2 separate regions of the Homo sapiens genome follow, and region 2 is linked to region 1. The links are contacts of gene promoters, found by promoter capture Hi-C in human tissues and cell types (Jung and others, 2019). All regions are on one chromosome and are shown on one strand. The core of a region is centred on a gene start or on the middle of the fragment in contact, and the rest is flanking DNA. Distances in the headings are between cores, read along the strand shown.

The links. The method cuts DNA at HindIII sites, captures the fragments that hold promoters and counts their contacts. A contact is called where the count stands out against the background at its distance.
Region 2: a fragment that was not itself captured here is called in contact with the fragment with the promoter of JAM2 in region 1 in 2 of the 25 tissues and cell types used here (lymphoblastoid cells and thymus).

What each region holds. Positions count from the first base shown.
Region 1 is chr21:25,636,348-25,642,824 of GRCh38, forward strand. JAM2 (junctional adhesion molecule 2) reads left to right here and starts at 2,911. Exons shown (of 10, transcript NM_021219.4): 1 at 2,911-3,541. The coding sequence starts at 3,475. RefSeq lists enhancers at 2,544-2,683, 3,421-3,921, 3,824-3,893 and a silencer at 2,904-3,093. The HindIII fragment of the contact is 5,846 bases long and covers 1-3,912 here.
Region 2 is chr21:25,774,965-25,781,441 of GRCh38, forward strand. No RefSeq gene overlaps it. Among named protein-coding and RNA genes, the nearest start is that of GABPA, 43 kb to the left of the region's middle. The HindIII fragment of the contact is 3,438 bases long and covers 768-4,205 here.

The DNA of each region.
Region 1 (6,477 bases), core at 1,661-4,160:
TAATCAAGGTACTTGTTAATAATACAGCTTCCTGGGGCTGCTGAGATTAAAACTTCTGAAACTCAGAATTTTAACATAATTTTAAGGAAAGAATCATAATGAAGGAGCTCCAAAGGATTCTGGGGAGAAGATAGTCCAGTGATCACTGTTCTAGAAGATGCTGCTAATATTTATATTTATTTCTTTAGTCAATCCTGAGGGTTTCCTGTTCTCTAGAGCACTCATTCTAACAGTCTACTGGTCACCCCAGCTATATTTCTCTCTCTCAACTCATCCCAAACCTGCAGGAATTATGTATGCCCTCTATGTTTCTTATTCCTTTAATGACACTATTTATAACCTCCACATACAGCCACCTATGCTAGAAATCTGATACCTACATGTTCTCTCCTTTCTCACCCCTACATCTAGCTGATAACATAATCCTGTTGACCATGTTTGTGAAATATCATCTGAATCCACCCGGTTTTTCATTTATCACACGGTGACCATTTACTTCACAACTTGGTCTCTTTCTCAGGATATTGTAATAGTTTAGACTTGACTAACACCCTGATTCTCTTTTCTGTAATCCATCCTGCACATTTCAATATGAGTCATCATTCTAGAGCAGCACTCTCTTGTAGAACTTCCTGCAATGATGGAAATACATTTTCCAATATGGTAGCCCCTACCCTCATGTGACTATTGAGAAATTCATATGTGATCAGTGTCAGTGGAGAACTGCATTTTACATATAATTGAATTCAAATTTATATAGCCAGCCAGGCATGGTGGCTCACACCTGTAATTCCAGCACTTTGGGAGGCCAAGGCGTGTGGATCATCTGAGGTCAGAAGTTCGAGACCAGCCTGGCAAACATGGCGAAACCCCATCTCTACAAAAAATACAAAAATTAGCCTGCATGGTGGCACATGCCTGTAGTCCCATCTACTGGACTGAGGAGGCTGAGGCAGGAGAATCACTTGAACCTGGGAGGCGGAGGTTGCAGTGAGCTGAGATTGCACCACTGTACTCCAGCCTGTGTGACAAAGTGAGACTCTGTCTCAAATTAAAAACAAAACAAAAAAAATGTATATAGCCACTTAGATCTATAGGCTACCATATTGGACACCACAGTTCTAAAATATGAGTCTTTTCTTATCTCATTGCTTTCAAAAAGCTCATTAGCTGTAGGATGAGGTCTAGACAGTAGCGTGAATGCTCTTCGTACTCTAACCTCCCCTTCAGTTTCTACCACCACCACCACCTACCTCACTATCCCGATCCCACATACACTTTAGTACTGTAGAACCTTGCTTTTTCTAAATAAACCATAATTTTTCAATCTCCTAGCTCTGGATCCTGCTGTTTCCTCTATGTAGAATGCCTCTCCTTTATGTCCTTCCCTTCAGAATTTGACCCATTTTTCAAGGTTTAATAAAGAAAGCCCTGGCCCCACTCCCAACAAAAGGAACAGCCCCTTATCATGGACCTTGGACAAGCCATTTAGTGTCTCTCCGCCCAGTTTTCTCATCTGCAAAGTGGGAATGATAACATTTCCTCTTTTATGGAGTTGTTGGGGGATTAGATATTGCGTTATTCAGACTCCATCACTGAGAAAGCATGCAATAAAAATAGCTGTTATTATTTTCTGTCCTCCTGTAACATTTACCATGTGGTATCAGGCATCTTTCCTGATAAGACTCTGTCTCCCCTCAAGACTGTGAGCTTGTTAGCAAGAAAGCCTCTATCTTGTTCATGGTTGTCCTTCAGCATCCAGCACATTGTTGCCATTTGTCAAATGCCTTGGCTGGGTGGCAAATAAATAACTTAGTCAGTTACTCACATAGGATTGCATAGAATTTTTTTAAGTATGACATTTTTGTGTATATTTTTAGGGAGGAGTAAAAGACATATAGCTGTAGCAAGAATTAGAAAAAAGAAGATGCCAACAACTTTTCTTTTTAAGCATCAAATCCTTCTCATTACTGCCCAGAAAAACTGGCATAAGCTGTTGTTAAATCTGTGCCCCTTCTCCTCGGTTGACTGGAGTACGAGTTTTAACATTTTGCCATTTTGACTTTCCTTTCTGGGTCCCCTGGGTCCTCTCCTCCCACCCCCTCCCTGGGTACTAAGTTTTCATCACTGTCACCACGGCAACAGCAAGGATGCCTCATTCCTCACAGTTCTGCACAGCTAAACTCTGGTCGCCTTTGTCCACTGAGCTAGCTGAATTCTTTTTAAATACACCACTAAATCAACTATCTGCTGTACAGAACTTCATCCATTATTCAACCTTTAAAAAAAAACAAAAACAAAAACAAACAAAAAAACAAAAGAAAAAAACTGATGTATACTAATTTCTTCTCCTGGGAATGGCCTTTTTCCAGACCTGCCAATACTCTTGAATACACCATACATTTTTGGTCCCTAGGAACAAATATAAAAATTGCCAGTGTACGTGCGTCCAATGTAAGTGTGGTGCAATTTTAAAGCACGCAACAGAGCATTCATAATGGGTTTCCCTTTTAAAAGCACAGTAGACCAAAAATAAACCTGACAAAGGGCAGCTGTAGAGTTTTAACACGTGGAAAACTCCACAAGCAGCAGTTATGTAACTTGAAAGAAACATGATAAATATTTCACACCATTAGATGAACTTCCAACTCTGACACTGAAAAAAAAGCAAAGAACAAGAACGCGAGACAAATGCACCTCAAATCTCCAAGGAGCAAAAAGCTTAAACTGAGAAGGGACCAAGGCTGTACTAAAATCTGAGACCTGACTTCCAGCACGAGTCTTGATTGCTTTTTTTTTTCTCGAGTTCGAGGCGGAGCCCGCGAACCCCATCTCCTCAGAGCGCCACCCCCTCAGCTTCGCCCGTTGGGCAGAATTTTCCAAATATCTCCACCCCTAGGCTGAAAAGCCAGAAAGAAGTTTTGAGCCAACGAGGGGAAGAAAGGAGTTGGGGCAAAACAGGAGGCGTTTCCCTACCCGCATACATCCCCGTCCCCGAGACACCCAATCCCCCCACCCCCAGCCTGCCCGCGCCTCCCGCCCCCAGCTCCTCGCCCTGGGGACAGCTGGCAGCCCCGCGCGGACCAGACACAAAGCCGATCAATCCCGGAGGCGTGGGGGCGGAGGGACGACCCGCCGGGGCTTTCCCGGGCGCTGCTCTCCTCCTGCTGCCCCCTCGCTAGGACCCGGCGGACGCCTCGTCTGGTTTTCACGCCCTCTAGCCCCTACCCCCACACCCCCAAAACAGAACAGACCCCCATCCCTGGGCTGGAGGACCCGCCTCTTGGCAGCCAGCTGAGAAGGCGCCCCGGGGAGGGGGAAACTGACATCCCATCTAGAGCCGTCCCTCCTCTTCCTCCCCTCCCGACTCTCTGCTCCTTTCCCGCCCCAGAAGTTCAAGGGCCCCCGGCCTCCTGCGCTCCTGCCGCCGGGACCCTCGACCTCCTCAGAGCAGCCGGCTGCCGCCCCGGGAAGATGGCGAGGAGGAGCCGCCACCGCCTCCTCCTGCTGCTGCTGCGCTACCTGGTGGTCGCCCTGGGCTGTAAGTTGCTCGGGTTCCTCTACCCTTCCTGCCTGGACCAGCCTGCCCCCACCCTCCAGCCCCCCACGGGGCGCTGGCTGACAGTGTCTGGGCGGCTCTGGGCCGAGGTCGCCGCGGGGCGTCTGACCTTGCGCCCAGGCGAGCGGGAAACCCAGGGTGCCCGCGAGCGGACGCTGGGAGCAAGGGAGCGCGAGGTCGTGGGTTTCTTGTGAATTGCGTCTGATTTTGTCAGTTCTAGATACAGAAAATTAAGGGTTCCCACTAGCAGGTTCTCATCTGTTTGCAAAGTTGGGGTAAGTTTTCAGACAGAGGGACGTGATTCGAATGCAAAACTCACTACCCACTGGTAAGATGCTAAGACCCCAAGAAAGATGGCATCACTGGGAGGCGGGCGCCGGCCACACTTTGAGTCCCCGGGGAGGGGGCAGCGTCCGCGTGGTCTGGGCTCTGTAGCGTCCCAGCTGAGCCGGCGATATGCAGCGCACTTGTGGGGCGGAGGTGGAGGGAATTCGTGGCTGCTGAGCCAGAATTACTTTTATCCTCTCCACCTGCACATCTACATTCACTTAGAGAAGTCTGGTCTGGGGACTCTAGCCAGCTGCTCTGTCCTCAGGGGACATCCAACGGGACGATTGTTAGAAAGATTCAGAAGCCACATGATCCAGTAGCTGGGGAGACGTCCCAAAGCCAATTTCACCGGATGATTTTAAACAGGATTTTCACGGATTCTGGACTCATGAGATTTGAAATCCTGGGAACGTTGCCGTTATTTTGTTTTCTTCGCGTTAACTTTTTAGGAAAATGGAGGAAATTACAATAGACTAAGCAATGCAGTTCTACTTTTGCTTTTTCTTTTTTCTCTCACCTTTTTTGTTTTGCTTTTTTCCCTTCCTTCCTTCCTCCCTTCCTTTCTCTTTCTTCTTTCTTTCTCTCTCTCTTTCTTTCTGTCTCTCTTTCTTTCTTTTGTAAAATGAGTTATTGTTGCTATTCACGTTCTGGTAAAGTAACACTTATAATACTTAACCTGCGGGACGAGTGTCTAATACCACAATACAATGATATTTTCTCACGCCCTCGCTGCCCAAGTGATCATCGCACAGCTCAAGTGATGTGAGCCACGTCCCTTTGTGGAGGAGGAAGGTGCACATTGTCTCAGGCAAGGGACATGTACTGACCAATATTATATAAAGTCAAACCAGAAAGCCAAAGTTTCACAATGAAACCCTTGTGCAATTCTGAAATATCAATTGGTATCATATGGAACACACAGAAGAAAAAAAATGCACTCATGCTAAAAGGCAACAGAGAGGTAGGCTGGAGAAATCGTTAACAGAACAACTGAGAAAGTTATGTATTCTGCTGAAATTCTAAATTTCAAATAGAAAAGAGTGTGCCTTTTAGTGTAGAATTGTCACTAATTAAAAACAGAAAATCGTTCTGCTGTGCTATTCCTATTGAATCACCAACATAGAAACAATACACCCCAAGTCTGAAATTGTAGTGGAGAAACAACCAAGAGGCGAACAAAAGCATAAATGAATGGGGCTGAGTGACCTCTTCAAGCTTTAGGTAAATATAACACATTGTCTCTGCTAAACTTGATTCCTATAGGGGATGTATTTGGAAGTGTTGTGGGGACTTTTCTATATTGTTCCTGGGATACTAAAAGATCTGGCATTGCAAGAGTGTTTTCTTTGTATGTGGGTGTTTTTTTTTTTATGTTTAAAACAATTTTAGAACAGTTTGGATTTAAATAAAAATTCCAACGCTAGTATAGAGAGTTCTCATATACTCCACACCCAGTTTCCCACATTGTTAATATCTTACATTAGTATGGTACACTTTATTCAAATTTCCTTCATTCTTACCTAATGCCTTTTCTATTCCAGGATGCCATCCAGGCTACCATATTACATTTAGTTGTCCTGATTCCTTAGGTTCTTCTTGGTTGTAACAGTTTCTTAGGCTTCCCTTGCTTTCTCTTACTATAATGGGTTTGAGGAGTTCTGGTCAAGTATCTGGTAGAATGACTGCGAATTGCTGTTTCTCTGATATTTTTCTCATAACTAGACTGGGGTTATAGGTTTTTTGGAGGAAGATCAGAAAGTGGTAAGGGGCCTAGGTAAAGTGACATTTTCATCACATTATCTCCAGGGAACATACCGTACACATGACTTATTGCTGTTGATGTGAACCTAGGTCACCTGTAATCATACTCCTAATGTAGTGCATACCAGTTTTCTCCACAGATTACCTACCCTTTTTTCTTCATTTCCATACTAGATTTTTTTGGAAGGAAGTCACTACATGCAACCCACACTTCTTCAGGAAGGAGAGTTATGCTCCATCTCCTTGAAGGCGGAGTATCTTCATAAATTATTTGGAGCTCTTCTGCATGGGAGATGGGTCTCTCCCTTCCCTTCATTTATTTATTTAATCATTTATTTTTCTATCAGTATGGGCTCATAAATATTTGTTTTATACTTTGGGTTATAATCCAATACTATTTTATTTATTAAAGACTTAGTGGATTTCTTATGCTGTTATTACATATTCATCTTTTTAATATTCTTCCCAGATGTAACTGTGCCATTCTTTTGGCCACTCCTATCATTTATAATATCATGCTTACTCCCTTCTTTCCTTTTTATCCTGCTGTTTATCAGCATTCTTTATATCTTTCTTAGTAGTCTGGAGGATTGCTTTTTTGTTGTTGTTCTTGTTATTTAAACGATGATGTCAGTATCCCTGTTGATATATGGATATTTTTGTGTGTGTTTAGTTGAATTACATTTTTCTTTCCCACTCCATTAGGAAAGGAATTTCTTGATGTTTGCTCACCACTATATGTCCAGTGCTGAGCAAAGTTCCTGGTTAATAGTAGGTATAAATATATGCCTGTTGATTCTATGGTGCCTTAGTCCATTCAGGCTGCT
Region 2 (6,477 bases), core at 1,237-3,736, 140 kb after region 1:
GAGGCCATGAGTTTTGAGACCAGCCTGGGCAACATAGCAAGACCCTATCTCTACAAAAATATAAAAGTTAAAATAAAATTAGCTGGGCATGGTTGTGTACGGCTGTAGTTCCAGCTACTCAGAAGGCTGAGGAGGGAGGATTGCTTGAGCCCAGGTTAAAATTCGAGGTTCAAGTGCAGGTTGAGTTTGAGGTTACAGTGAGGTATGATTCTGCCGCTACAACAGCACTCCAGTCTGGGGGTGACAGAGTGAGACGCTGTATCTAATAAAAAAAAAAAAAGACAGTAAATTGGACTTCATCAAAAATTTTTAAAACACCTGTTATTTGAAAGATACTATTAAAATAAAAGGCAAGGCTGGGTGTAGTGACACATGCCTGTAATTTCATTGCTTTGGGAGGCTGACTGGGGAGGACTGCTTGAACCCAGGAGTTTGAGACCAGCCTGGGCAACATCGTGAGACCCCCTCTCTATGAAAAAAAAAAATTTAATTAGCCAACCTTGGTAGCATGGACCTGTAGTTCTGGCTACTCAGAAGCCTGAGGCAGGAACACTGTTTGAGTCCAGGAGTTTGAGGTTATAATAAGCTATGATCATACCAGTGCACTCTAGCCTGGGTGAGAGAGCAAGACCCTGTCTCAAAAAAAAAAAAAAAAAAAAGAAAAGAAAATTAAATAAAGGACAAGGTACAGATTGGAAGAAAATATTTGCAATACACTTATCTTACCTAGGTTACAAAGGTAAGATAAGTGTATTGACCACACTGATTTATAATATTTTGTCATTAAGCAATGAGCATCAGTTGTAACTGAATGATTATGGCAATATTAATATCTTACAAAGGTAAGATATTTAATATCAAAATATATGATAAATTCTTTTAACTCACTAAGATAATCAAATAATTTATGGTCAAAGGATTTGTACAGACACTTCATAAAAAAAGATATACATATGGCCAGTAAGCATATGAAAAGCTATTTGGCATTATTAGTTATCACGAAATACCAAGTCACAATCCAGTACCACTAAAAACACATTACAACTGCTAAAAGTTAAAAGACTCACAATACCAACTGTTCTCAATGACATGGACCAAATGAAGTCACACACATTGCTAGTGGAAATGTAAAATGGCACACTACTTTGGAAAAGTTAAACACTTTTGTCACGACACAGCAATTCTAATCCTAGGCATTTATTTTATGTATTTATTTTTTTGAGACAGAGCTTCACTCTTGTCACCCAGGCTAGAGTGCAATGGTGCGATCTCGGCTCACTGCAACCTCCACCTCCCAGGTTCAAGTGATTCTCCTGCCTCAGCCTCCCAAGTACCTGGGATTACAGGCACCAGCCATCAAGTCCGGGTAATTTTTGTATTTTTAGTGGAGACAGAGTTTTGCCACGTTGGCCGGGCTAGTCTCGAACTCCCGACCTCAGGTGATCTGCCCGCCTAGGCCTCCCAAAGTGCTGGCATTACAGGTATGAGCCACCGTGGCTGGCCCAATCCTAGACATTTATTTAAGAGAAATAAAATATGTTCACTGAAAGACTTGTACACGAATGTTTATAACAGCTTTATTCATAATGTCTCCAAACTGTTAACACAAATATCCATCAGCAGGTGACTGAATAAACAAATTATGAATACCCATAGAACAGAAGTACGACTCAGCAATAAAAGGGAGTGAACAACTGCCTCATCAACAACTCTGGAAAAGGCAAATCTCATTGTAAGGATAGAAAGCAGATCACTGGTTGCCTAGGGCTAGGGATAATGGTTGATTTCCTGGATTAGGCATAAAGAAATTTGGGAGGATGATGAGCATAGCCTATATTATGCTTTGTTGACGATTACATGGATGAACAGATTTGTCAAAACTCATCTAAATGTATACTTAAAATAGGTGCATGGGGTTATGTAAATTTCACCTCAATAAGCTTAAAAACTGAATTACTAGAGAAATGAAATTTAAAAGACAAAAATACATAACCACTTTTTAAAAATTATTAGATTCCACAAGCATAAGATTGCTATATCAAATTATCAAAATTGTTTTAATGCTTGCTCTTATCTCCCTGTGGACTGATGACAAACAGTTCACGGACTGACCACACTGATCTACAACATTTCATCAACTGATGAGCATCAGTTTTAACTGAACGATTATGGCAATGTTAATGGTATTTGAAAATTTCTCTGTAAACCTTTTTTTTTTTTTTTTTTGAGACTGAGAGTCTCACTCTGTTACCCAGGCTGGAGCGCAGTGGCTTGATCTTGGCTCACTGCAACCTCCACTTCCTGAGTTTAAGCGATTCTCCTGCCTCAGCCTCCCCAGTACCTGAGATTATAGGCCTGCATCACCACGCCCAGCTAATTTTTGTAGTTTTAGTAGAGACAGGGTTTCACCATGTTGGCCAGGCTGGTCTTGAACTCCTGAGCTCAAGTGATCTGCCTGCCTGAGCCTCCCAAAGTGCTGGGATTACAGGCATGAGCCACCATGCCCGGCTGTAATGTGAGAAAAGCATTTTCTCATGTCTGCTAACAAGATAGTTGATTTGGGAATCTTATTTCCATGATACTAGTAACACCCAGTTAGCACCTATGCTATTTTTATAGGTAACACCACAGTAACTAGACATGAATGAAATAGAACACTGAAGAAAAAGTTATTTATCATATCTATGAGCAACTCTTTAATTCACTTCCTTAGAAAACTATGCAAAAAGGTTTGCTCTAATACTCACAGTACGAATAGAGAAAGTAAGCTTCCTATCTCTAATGTTGGTTTTACTTTGTGAATGAGAGGGCATATTGCATATTAATACACTGATAAACATCACTGAATAGTTGAACTAGAATGTTCATTTGACTTAATGGTTAAAGGAAAAAGCTATGCATTAAGAACTCCATACTAGGATTCTTGTCTCCAGCTCTCAAATCATAAAAATAGAGGATTTTTGTTTGTTTTTGAGACAGAGTCACTCTGTTGCCCAGGCTGCAGTGCAGTGGCACGATCTCGGCTCACTGCAACCTTCACCTTCCAGGTTCAAGCAATTCTCCTGCCTCAGTCTTCCATGTAGCTGGGATTACAGGTGTGAGCTACCACATCTGGCTAATTTTTGTATTTTATAGAGATGAGGTTTCACCATGTTGGCCAGGCTGGTCTCGAACTCCTGACCTCAAGTGATCTGGCCAACTTGGCCTCCCAAAGTGCTGGCGAGAGGTAACAGCCTGCTAGCAGCCCTCGCAGCCCTCACTCGCTCTCGGAGCCTCCTCGGCCTTGGCGCCCACTCTCGCCGCGCTTGAGGAGCCCTTCAGCCCGCCGCTGCACTGTGGGAGTCCCTTTCTGGGCTGGCCAAGGCCGGAGCCGGCTCCCTCAGCTTGCGGGGAAGCGTGGAGGGAGAGGCGCGGGCGGGAACCCGGGCTGCCCGCGGCGCTTGCGGGCCAGCGCGAGTTCCGGGTGGGCGTGGGCTCCGCGGGCCCGCACTCAGAGCGGCCTGCCGCCCCAGGCAGTGAGGGGCTTAGCACCTGGGCCAGCAGCTGCTGTGCTAGATTTCTCGTGCGGGCCTTAGCTGCCTCCCCGGGGGCAGGGCTCGGGACCTGCAGCCTGCCATGCCTGAGCCTCCCCCCTCTCTCTCTGTGGGCTCCTGCGCGGCCCGAGCCTCCCTGACGAGCGCCGCCCCCTGCTCCACGGCGCCCAGGCCCATCGACCGCACGAGGGCTGAGGAGTGCTTGCGCAGGGCGTGGGACTGGCAGGCAGCTCCACCTGCAGCCGGTGCGGGATCCACTGGGTGAAGCCAGCTGGGCTCCTGAGTCTGGTGGGGACTTGGCTAATCTTTATGTCTAGCTAAGGGATTGTAAATACACCAATCAGCACTCTGTATCTAGCTCAAGGTTTGTAAATGCACCAATCAGCACTCTGTGTCTAGCTCAGGATTTGTAAATATACCAATCCACACTCTGTATCTAGCTAATGTAGTAGGGACTTGGAGAACTTTTGTGTCTAGCTCAGGGTTCCTAAACGCACCAATCAGCACCCTGTCAAAATGGACCAATCAGCTCTCTGTAAAACAGACCAATCAGCTCTCTGTAAAATGGACCAATTAGCAGGATGTGGGTGGGGCCAGATAAGAGAATAAAAGCAGGCTGCCCGAATGAGCAGTAGCAACTCGCTGTGGTCCGCTTCTGTAGTGTGAGGAGGTGTGTTCTTTCCGTCTTTGCAATAAGTGTTGCTGTTGCTCACTCTGGGTCCAGCTGCGTTTATGAGCTGTAACACTCACCGCTAAGGTCCGCAGATTCACTCTTGAAGCCAGTGAGACCACAAACCCACCAGGAGGAACGAACAACTCCAGCTGCGCCACCTTAAGAGCTGTAACACTCACTGAAGGTTTGCAGCTTCACTCCTGAGCCAGCGTAGACCATGAACACACCGGAAGGAAGAAACTCGGAACACATCCGAACATCAGAAGGAACAAACTCCGGACACGCCGCCTTTAAGAACTGTAACACCGCCAGGGTCCACGGCTTCATGCTTGAAGTTGGTAAGACCAAGAACCCACCAATTCCGGACACGTTTTGGCGACCACGAAGGGACTTTTGCCTGTCGCTGAGCGGTGAGACCATCGCCTATCGCCAAGCAGTGAGTACCATTGGACCCCTTTTGCTTGCTATTCTGTCCTATTTTTCCTTAGAATTCGGGGGCTAAATACTGGGCACCTGTCAGCCAGTTAAAAGTGACCGGCAAGTGATCTGGCCACCTTGGCCTCCCAAAGTGCTGGGATTACAGGCGTGAGCAACCGCGCCGGGCGTAAAAGTAGAGGATATTTTAAATAGAATTAAGTGTGAGAATCTGCCCTGTTGGCATAAAATATATTAGCTAATTGATTAAACAAAGAATACCTAGAATAAAGGTATAAACAAATAACCTTCCATTGTGGAGGATATGTAAAGTGGCGTGCCAAAGGAAAGAACTAGAAGAAACAGATTATGGTCCTTTTCCCACTAACCAGATACGAAACTTACAGCTAGTTGTTTCACCTTTGTTCACCTCCATTTTCTCTCTCCTGTGTTGGGGTCGTTGACACATTTGCCTGCAGTGCAGGGCCATTGGAAGGGTTAAATGAACTCAGTATGTAATTCATCTTGCAGGCTCCTAAATAAGTGTAAAGGTCTAGGAAAGAAAAGCCTCCCTCCAAAGAATCCAGTGTTCTAGGTTGAAATTGGTGCTCCTCTCGCGTAATGGTGAAAATCACAAAGTAGCGTAAAAAACATGTTGAATGAATGAGTAAGGAATAAGAGCTAATTCTGATCTCTTACGATATGTCAAGTCGTTTATGTGCCTTCTCACTTATTTCTCACAACTCCTTGAAGTAGATAACTGTCCGTTTTATAAATGGAGAGATTGAGGCATAGAGGGATTAGTCAACTTGGCTGAAGTCACTTGCATAAGGGCCAACCCAGGCTTGAAGCCCTGCGTGGGCTTTTCATTAGGATCAAGTCTGTCTCAACAGAATATAGCTGTTAATACCTACAGTCAATGAAAGGGAGGTGTGTTTAACACGTCTAAAAAATGAGAATTGCAAACATTGAGTATTTTTTTCATTTTTCCTGGCTTGTACTTGTCTTACCCAAAGTGAGAAGCTTATACCAAATTTTACTTTAAGTAGTATTCATCTCTAATAAGTCAACGGAGTTTTATTAAACATTATCATACAGCCAACCCTTAGTAAAATAATGGCTCTAGGCAATCATCACCAACAGCTGCTAAAACCACTAGCTGAAAAGTTAGACGCTTTGTAAAGGATGGATTTGCCTCACAATCCCTGAATACATATATCAATCTTAGTATCACCAAAAGCGAGACAACCAGGGCCGGGCGCAGTGGCTCTGTAATTCCAGCACTTGGGAGGCCGAGGCGGGCGGATCACAAGGTCAGGAGATCGAGACCATACTGGCTAACACGGTGAAACCCTGTCTCTATTTTAAAAACACAAAAAATTACCCGGGAGTGGTGGCGGGCGCCTGTAGTCCCAGCTACTGGGGAGGCTGAGGCAGGAGAATGGCGTGAACCCGGGAGGCGGAGCTTGCAGTGAGCCAAGACAGAGCTACTGCCCTCCAGCCTGGGCGACAGAGTGAGACTCCATCTCAAAAAAAAAAAAAAAAAAAAAAAGGCCAACCAGATAATCATATGCCTCCTAATATGACGCATTGGGACAACTCTTGCCAAAACATAAACTGAACCTAAATCTGATAAATTCCTCAGATGTAAGTACCAGTTCATAGGAAATATAGGACACAGAGAGACTGTCATTTACATGGATAGAATCAACAAAAATATAAAAGAAAATAACGTTAAAAAAAATTACAAGAAAAAAAGGGAAATGTGTAGATTAAAAGAGACTTAAGAGTGTCACTCAACCAAATGCATTCTGTGGTTTTGTTTGTATCCTGATTACAATAAACTATAAAAGAAAT